Regions from separate parts of the Homo sapiens genome. Here regions 2 and 3 are each linked to region 1. Evidence: promoter capture Hi-C in 16 types of primary human blood cells and fetal thymus (Javierre and others, 2016). All regions are on one chromosome and are shown on one strand. The core of a region is centred on a gene start or on the middle of the fragment in contact, and the rest is flanking DNA. Distances in the headings are between cores, read along the strand shown.

The links. The method cuts DNA at HindIII sites, captures the fragments that hold promoters and counts their contacts. A CHiCAGO score of 5 or more calls a contact.
Region 2: a contact is called between a fragment that was not itself captured here and the fragment with the promoter of CHMP4C in region 1, in 5 of 17 cell types (total CD4 T cells, activated CD4 T cells, non-activated CD4 T cells and 2 more). The highest score is 7.2, in total CD4 T cells.
Region 3: a fragment that was not itself captured here is called in contact with the fragment with the promoter of CHMP4C in region 1 in 1 of 17 cell types (activated CD4 T cells); the score reaches 7.2 in activated CD4 T cells.

Annotation. Positions count from the first base shown.
Region 1 is chr8:81,731,110-81,733,906 of GRCh38, reverse strand. It overlaps CHMP4C (charged multivesicular body protein 4C), which reads right to left and starts at 1,459. Exons shown (of 5, transcript NM_152284.4): 1 at 1,091-1,459. The coding sequence starts at 1,280. The HindIII fragment of the contact is 11,241 bases long and covers 414-2,797 here.
Region 2 is chr8:80,025,904-80,028,700 of GRCh38, reverse strand. All of the region lies in intron 5 of TPD52-MRPS28 (TPD52-MRPS28 readthrough), which reads left to right. All of the region lies in intron 1 of MRPS28 (mitochondrial ribosomal protein S28), which reads left to right. Among named protein-coding and RNA genes, the nearest start is that of MRPS28, 3.0 kb to the left of the region's middle. RefSeq lists a silencer at 2,013-2,307. The HindIII fragment of the contact is 189 bases long and covers 1,284-1,472 here.
Region 3 is chr8:80,045,575-80,048,371 of GRCh38, reverse strand. All of the region lies in intron 4 of TPD52-MRPS28 (TPD52-MRPS28 readthrough), which reads left to right. All of the region lies in intron 5 of TPD52 (tumor protein D52), which reads left to right. Among named protein-coding and RNA genes, the nearest start is that of MRPS28, 17 kb to the right of the region's middle. The HindIII fragment of the contact is 929 bases long and covers 906-1,834 here.

The sequences.
Region 1 (2,797 bases), core at 210-2,709:
GCATCCTGTAGAGTGAGCCAAATCTTCCCAAGGCTTCATTATGACTAAAGAAGCCCAACTTGAGGGTGCAAATGTTTGGGTTTGGTGGTAAGCAGAGTCCGATATTGCCACTTCCTTTTCTGGGTCTGCCATGAACCCGGTGTTACAAGAGCAAATCACTTCAACTTCTCACTGAGTTTTTATCTGTGCCACAGGTGCTGTTTAGAGGTATTCCAATAGAAGGAGCAGTATACTGAAGAAATCAGTTAACTCTGGCAAAGAACAGGTGTTCAAGGTGCAACAGGAACACCAAGAATCATTACTGACTCAAAGTCTCTTGTGTGTGCCAAAAGTCAGTGATAGGAAATTTAATAATTAATTCCTCTACCTTTTTTTTTTTTAAGACTTCAACTGCCGAACATCCAGCTAAAGCTTTCCACAGCTGAGGAGCAAGGTAGACCACAACGTACTAGAATATCCTTTTCTGAAGATTTACGTGCAAGTTAAAATGTGTAATTTAATATACAAACATACAGCAGAAAACTTCATGGTTAGTGTTGGAGTCAGCAAGGCTGGCCTAGAAAAAGCTGGACCAGGAGCAAAATTTACAGGGGTGCGAAAACACTCAGTAATCAAGACAAATAATATTTTAATGCAATATTTTTAAAATTCAAAATTAATATTAAAAAATCCACGATGAACAAATCATCACATTATAAAAAATAATTTTAAATAAAGATGTGCTGCACATAACAACATAAGAGCTAGAGGCAAATGAAAAAAATCAATACCAATCTTGTCTTTATTTAAAATTTTGATATTTTCTTCATCATTTCTTTTTTGGCATTGGTTCTGAGTCCTTTAGGTATTGCATTAAAGTATTGTTCATCTTGATTACTGAGATTTTTGGCGGCCCCTTACATTTTGCCATCAGTGCCAGTGTCTAGCTCAACTCACCCTAGTCAGTGCCCTAAGAGTCAGTACCAGTTCCTAGAAAAGACTGCAGGAGCAAACCTGGCCACCTGGGGACCTCAGTGGTGTGGGCCGATTGTCCCCAAGGGAAAGGCTAGAGGCAGATGGGCTCCCGCCTGTGGGCCAGACCCCAGCCTACCTCGCTTATTCTGCGTGCCGTGCTTCTTGGCCAGGGCGATTTCTCTCTGGATTCGATTTTCCAGGTACTCTTGTTTCTTGCCCAGCATCTCCTCAGTCTCCCGAAGTCGGACCAGGGCCTCCTGGGGACTGGGAGCGGCTCGGCTCTTAGAAGAGCCGCCCCCTTTAAAGAACTTGCCCAACTTGCTCATTGCTGTGGAGTTCGGAGGGCCAGCGATCCCGGGGGCCTCTCGGGAGCTCCCCGGGGCCGCGCCGAGGGGACAGGTGAGCAAGGCAGTCCTCTCGGGGACCCAGACCGGAAAGGCGGCCCTCCTGGGAATCAACAAGTCGTCCTGGACAGGTGACACACACTCCAGGGCATTTCCTGGCTGCCAGTTCGGCCCCGCCCCGCTGCACAGCGGCTGGGCGGGGAGGCCACCGCTGGGACGTCGGCTGGCCGGCGCCACCCGGCCCTCTGGGAGTTGAGCGAGAGCAGAGAAAAGTTGAAAAGACCGACAAAGACTGTGGGAAGTTGGCTTTTATCCACACTAGGGACGGTCCCAGGAACGAGGAACTAGTTTGTGAATGGCTCAAAGAAAAGCAAACCGATGTCCAGGGGTCTTGTGCAGGACCTGAAAGTGTAAGTGCGCAAGACTGGATATGCAAAATGCTTTATTCCATGCGTGTCTTTTGTGTGTACGTGAGCATAGTGTTCCTGTATTCAGGCCTCTGTTCTTGTGAATAAGAATATTCAGATCTTTTCCTCTAAGTGTATGTCATGTAGGTATGAGTGTGTGGACACAAAGGCTTCCAGGATATTTGTCTGCCACTAGGATGCAGGTGTGTGGGCAAGCTCGGAGCAGCTGCTGCTACTGGGCTTGTTTCTGCATTTGGTAGTCCGGGCAGGTTGATGTGTGCCTGGATGCTAGTTGGCACAGTGTAGATTCTAGATCATCCTTACAGGACTTGAAGTGGGTGAAAGATGGTGGCCATCTCTTTTCCTAATGTCAGGACTTCTGGAGTGTGTTGGTGGTTGGATTCAACTCTATAACTAGGAATCCGAAGTTTTCTGAATGATCCTCAGTGTATCAAAAACCTTAAATGGGGCTGCCCTGGTGTTTGGCTGTATGTCAAATGCTATTACATAGATACTTAAGTAACAAAAAGTAGAGAATATCCTGGAGAAGAGAAACATTCTTTTGTTCATGCTCACTATCTCAGCCCATCTATTAGATCTGCTGGCAAATAATTTAGTAAGATGAAAGGACAGCCATATGTAATGCTTATAGATGATGCAATACTGCTGCAAACCTGTGTCAAGCACACTACAAAGAAGTGGAATTATCTGTGTTTTACTCTTCAACGATTGCCATGTGCTCTGCATAATATAGCCGTATTTGAGCAACGTTACCCAACATTACCAAAACCTATTTTTGATTGTTAGCCAGCCACTGTTTAAGAGAAAAAAAAAAAAAAAAAACACCCATTACTCTGACAAATTCACCTTGATACCCAAGATCAATAACACAATTTTGTCTGCAAGCATACAAACACAAAGCAGCAAGTTAATCTATTTATCCAACATTGGCATAGATAGCATAAAATTTTGCCAAAGAAATTGAACACTTCCATAGGAGGCTTACAGTAAGCATCTTCTAACACACAAATATGTGAACTTATCATTTCACAGTAACTGCAGCCAGCCACCTCCTATCATTTCCTGGCTGGC
Region 2 (2,797 bases), core at 129-2,628, 1.7 Mb after region 1:
ACAGATGTGAGCCACCTGGCCTGGCTGACCCCGCCCGGCCCCGCCCCCCCCGCCCGTCTTCTGCTTTTGAGATCCCTGTGATTACATTGGCCTCCCTAGATAATCTATTTTAAGATCAGCTGATTAGCAATCTTAATTCCACCTGCAAAGTTAATTCTCCTTTGCCACGGAAGGTAACATATTCACAAATTCTAGAGATTAGGATGTGGATGTCTTTGTAGGGGGAGGGGGCATTATTCTTTCTACCATATATGGAGAAGTCATAAAATACTAGCAGAATAGCGATGATTGACCTGAAGCCACCTAAGGGATGGATTTTAGATCCATCCTTAAGGTAAGGCCATAAGAGTTAAGTGCAGTAAGGTTGGAAACATAGAGTTCAGTGCTCCCTTCCAAATATATGTATAGGAAAGGAGTTTTTCTATTTCTTACCTAATATTTCTCACTCACGCTTCGCTCCCATTCATACCACATTCTAAGCCCCTTCGGAAACCCCCCAAAATAATTCTCAATTGCTGAGTTAACTGTGGTAAGAGTGAAAATTGTAGCATCACATGTATAGTAAGTTAAGTGTTTGAAACTAAAAATGTACTGTTTATTTAATGAAGGAAACAACCAAGGTGTTTTAGAGTCCCCAGAATTCCCTTTCCTTTCCTTTTCTCTTTCCTTTCCTTTCCAAGGCAGTTCTAATTGGGCTGTTCAGTTTTTCCAGGAGGAGGCTGGGGTGTTTCCTGGCAGTCCCAGCACATCCGTTAGATTTTCTCAGTCCAGCTCAGGCTCAGCAGCATCTCTGCACCCTGCGTGGTTGTTCTCCGTCTAACACAGTTTAGAAAACATTATTCTACTAGATGATGGGTAAATGTGTTTGGTTGTGATGTACAGTTCACCAATTTCTTATTCACAAGTCTTTGACATCTTGGTTTAATGGAAATAAAATTCCCTGGGGAGGAGGATATCAGGAGGCTGTGTTGTAGTCTCCGTTCAGCAAGTTCTTAGCTTTGAAGCATTTGAAGTTTACGTGAACCCCTTTACTCCTTCTTAATTGATACCACTGACTTCAGTTGCTCCCTGGTTCAGGTCATTACACACACTGTGGATCAAGTTATCTTCCTAAAGTTGGGCTCTATAATCAGACTTAATGAGGTTATTTACTTATTGCTCTCCTTGAGAATCTTCTAAACCTCCATTCACACTGCCTGCAAGATTAAATATACAATGGTGCATCTCTCTACTGTGGCTTCAGAGGCCTACTGCCATTCAAGACCCTGCTTGGGTTAAAAGCTTCGGCTCAGTTCAGGTTTCCAGTTTCTGCCATCTTTCAACTGAGTGACTTTGGGCAACTTACTTAGCCTATCTAAGTTTGCTGTCTTATCTCAAAGTGGAGATAATGCTTCAACTGGAGTTACTGGGAAGTTTATGTGAAATAATACATTTAACGTGCTCTCAGTACATTGACTGGTACAGAGTAAGCTTTATTCAGTGCATTTTAGCTTTTATGTGGCCCCAGCCGTTTCTTCTCCAGCCTTCTGCCTTCCTGAGAATAGTTTCACAGAGATGCTTCCACAATTACACAGTTCTTTGAAGTCCCATTGTTTTCTTAATAATGAACTTTAATTTATCAAACCGTGTAGATTCATCTCTTGTAACTGATGTACCGCTCTGGTGGGGGATGTTGACAGTGGGGGAAGCTATGTGTGTGTCAGCACAGGAGGGGTATGGGATATGTCTGTACTGTACTCTCAATTTTGCTGTAAACCTAAAAGTACTCTAAAAAATAATTTTTTTTCTTAATGAATGAATATAAAATGCTATTTAAAAACATAAGGCAGTATATGCTCTAACTAGAGGTTGAGCTGTGTCATTCAAAGAGACAATAAAATTAAGTTTTTCATGGCAAAAAGCCCAAAACCAAACAAAAAACACCAGAAAACAACCATGCACATGCCATTTTTTTTAATCCCAAATGTAAGGACATTCGTCATCACTAATATGTTAACTTGTGGTGCCAGAGTAACACATGACACATCAGAATAAAATTTTTACTAACTTTTTTCCCAGTAGAAAATGTTTCAGGAGGTCAGAGACCTTGTCTTTCTTATTCTGTTGTATTTCCAGTGCCTAGCACAGTCCTTGACCCATAGTGGGCACTCGGTAAATATTTGTCAAATGTGTGAATGAATGAATAGTACATGTAGTGCATATTTGAACTTCAGTTATACCTGGCCTGTCGTTGAATTGTAATATATGTGTCACTGTCCACAAACAATTGTACAAGAATAGTACAGTCTTGAGCATGTCAGTTGAATGTGCCTGTCCAGAATAATTGAGTAAAAATAATTTTAAGAGTAGTAAGAAATTGAAAATACCACATTAGTTTTAGTTTTAGTATTTACTGGAAGTTTTCAGTGTTTTTCTAACATATTTATGGTAAGGAATATGAGGAGTTGTTGGGTATTGATAGGAATTCAACTTGTGAAAAAACTTGCTTTACCTCTTTTGAACTTACTGGACCTATTTAATTGAACAGTATCGTGAGATTACAAGATGAATAAACGCCAATTGTGTATTCAGGGTTTTTGAAAAAATATTGTTTACAAATTTTACAAAAGTAATATTTGGTTACTTTAGAAAGAAAATTTACATAGCCCTGCAGGTTATTATGTGAAATGTAAAAGTCCCTTTTTCTTACTTTCTCAAGGCTGGAGAGTGTGTTTTTTATGCATAGCTGCAGAGTTTTATATTACACACGTAAGTATAAGCTAAGTATTGCTATATATATTTAAAAACATTAATTGGT
Region 3 (2,797 bases), core at 121-2,620, 1.7 Mb after region 1:
AAGGAGAAAATGCAGCAGTTTTGCCAACCTGAATGTGTTAGACTCAGCAACAGTTTTTATTTTACATAGTCAGTTGATAAATCAGCACTTGGGATTTAGATATTTGCCTTATGCCTTGATTGAGGGGAGGGAGATGTATAAGGAAATAGAGAAGAGAGAGAGAGAGCTGCTCTTGATGTCCTGAGAATGAGGTGTGGTGGTAGCAAGGCCAAGGAGGACGTGGTCATGAGTGCTGTCCTGGGAGGCCCTCTGGGGCAGCCTGCTTTTCCCTCAGGTGATATGCTTATATTTCCCCTCTGTTTGCATATGTTCTATGCCTATGTGAAAGTATTGACTCATGCCTTTAGCATTTTGAGGGAAACTTTAAAAGAACCTTCTCATTGCAGTCAGTGCCAGGGTTAAACATAAAATTTTAGTGTTATTAAAAGCATACTATAATATTCAGTAGACACATTTGTCTCATATTTTTGGTATATTTAAGAGGAAGTGCTAATTAATTTTGCCTTTATTTCCAAAGAAAATTTCTCCTTTTTAAATGTGTGTTTCTTCATGTGCCCCTGTAGATATTTATTTGGTTTGGGCTCATTAAAGTCCTGCTAGACAATTCCCTTTTGCTGAAAACTTCCACCACTTAATGGGAAAAGAAATGATCTCTTTCCTCGTGTCAGAAAAAGAATATCTTTTGATTAGAATTTGAAACACTTTAATGAACTTTTCTCTGTTTCATGCCCATATTCCCAATTTTAGTTATCAAAATTGTTTATTCATTTATTCATTCATTCTTTCACTCAAAAGTATTTATTGAGTGCTAACTATGTGCCAGGCATTGCTGTAGACTATAGGGGTGGAGCTAAAAACCAAAATAATGCTGAAATTTGAAAGCTTCAATGTGAAATTTGAAAGCTTCAACGTGATATGCTTATATTTCCCCTCCTGTTTGCATATTTTCTATGCATATGTGAAAGTATAATATACAGTAGATGCTAATTCATGTTTCAATTAAAGCATGTGTTATAATAATAATTAACATTTATAAGCCCAGCGAGACAATAGTACCTCAGAAGCAGATGCTATTGTTTTTGATATTACAGATGAGGAAACTGAGCCATAGAGAGATTAAGTGACTTCCCCAAGGTTGCACAGCAGGTATAAGTGGCTGATGGTCAGGACTGGAACCGAGCACACCTAGTCCTGGAGCCTGCACTGTCCTCCTGGGCCTCCCCAGAGCAGTGGTGGTTTAAGACAGTGCCCCTCTAGGCACTGTCCAGCACTTTGAACAATAGCTGCTGTGATCACCAACATCAAAAGATTGTGTGAGGGCAAAGTGGAATAATAGTACATCAATAGCTGTGAAAAGCATACGTGGTATATAGTAAGCAGTCCAACATGTTAGCCATTAACTTTCCCTTCTCCTCCTCCCGCTGCTGCTACTTCCTTCCTTATCCTCCCTCTACCCCCTCCTCTCTTATTATTATTGAGCATGAAAGCATCAGATAACTGTTAGAAACAAGGAATATTTTTTAAAAATCAATTCAGCTGTTTTAAAAAAATGACTTTTTCAAAGTAAGAGTAAATGCAGTGTGAGATTGAAAAGTACTTAGTGAGAATCAGATTATCCTGATTTTTTTTTTCAGTGTTTTGAGGAGCCCATGTTTGCATTCCTAGTTTGATTACAGATTAATGTATTTGGGGGTTACAAATAAGATGCAACATTTTTAACAAAATGTGCCTTATAGATGGTAACCGATTCTTACAACCTATCTATTAGAGATGATTCTGGTCCCGTAGCAACATGACTTTTTACTTTTGAAGGTTTCCATATTACATTTAAGCTTGAATGAAACTGAAAATGATGAGCAAGTTGAAGCTTTGTGTAACTTGCCATAGAGAAGCCAGAAATGAAAGAACAGCCACCCTATAGTTAGATTACAACTAGTTACCAACAAAATTGAATTTCATCTAACTATGGATTATGGGGAGGATCCAGCAACCAGATAGAATTGAAGCTGATGTGTGCTCCTTTTCTTCCTACTATAAAATAGCTACCATAAAAGCAGAGAGACCTTGACTTTGACTCTGTTAACTGATTTTATTCTGTTTAATGGGTATATTTATCTTCAAGTGTGATATAATGCATACAGAAAAGTGCTCAACACCAAATTCATTTCAGTGATTTTTTTCACAAAATAAACAGTCTAGTCACTTCCTTGCCTTTCCTTATATATTACCACTGAAACATATTTAGTAGGTACATGCTAGGTAAAGTGGTATAGAGCCCAACCGATCCACTGCTGGAGGAAGTGATATTGTACATGGGTTCTTAGGGACAGTGACTAGAATTAGCTGTGAAATTCTGAAATTTGCACTTACTTATCCACCTGTTTCCACATTTTGTTGATACTACCAAATTCAATGTGTGGGTCCCCGGGACAAGGAATTTATCACATATTTGGCCATTACCTTCTTTTTCAGCGATTTCTGCCAAAATGAATGTCCTAATGAAGAGTTTTGATTATTAGGAACAGAAAGCTATGTAACTTTTAGCTCACCTAAAAAGAAGAATGTGTTGCACAAATACAAAGTTTTTTTGTAATTCAAGGAGAGAAAAGAAAGCAAGGCCAGGCTCCACCCAAACCAGCTCCATCAACTGGGAAATTGAAGTAGCTTCTATTATTGAAACCAAGAAACCTATTCCTCTTCCATCCTGCTGGATTCCCTGCATGATCACCTCTCCTGACCTCATCTGCTCTACCTCTCTGTGTGCTTATATTCGATTCTTTCTTTGGGAACTGGTTTC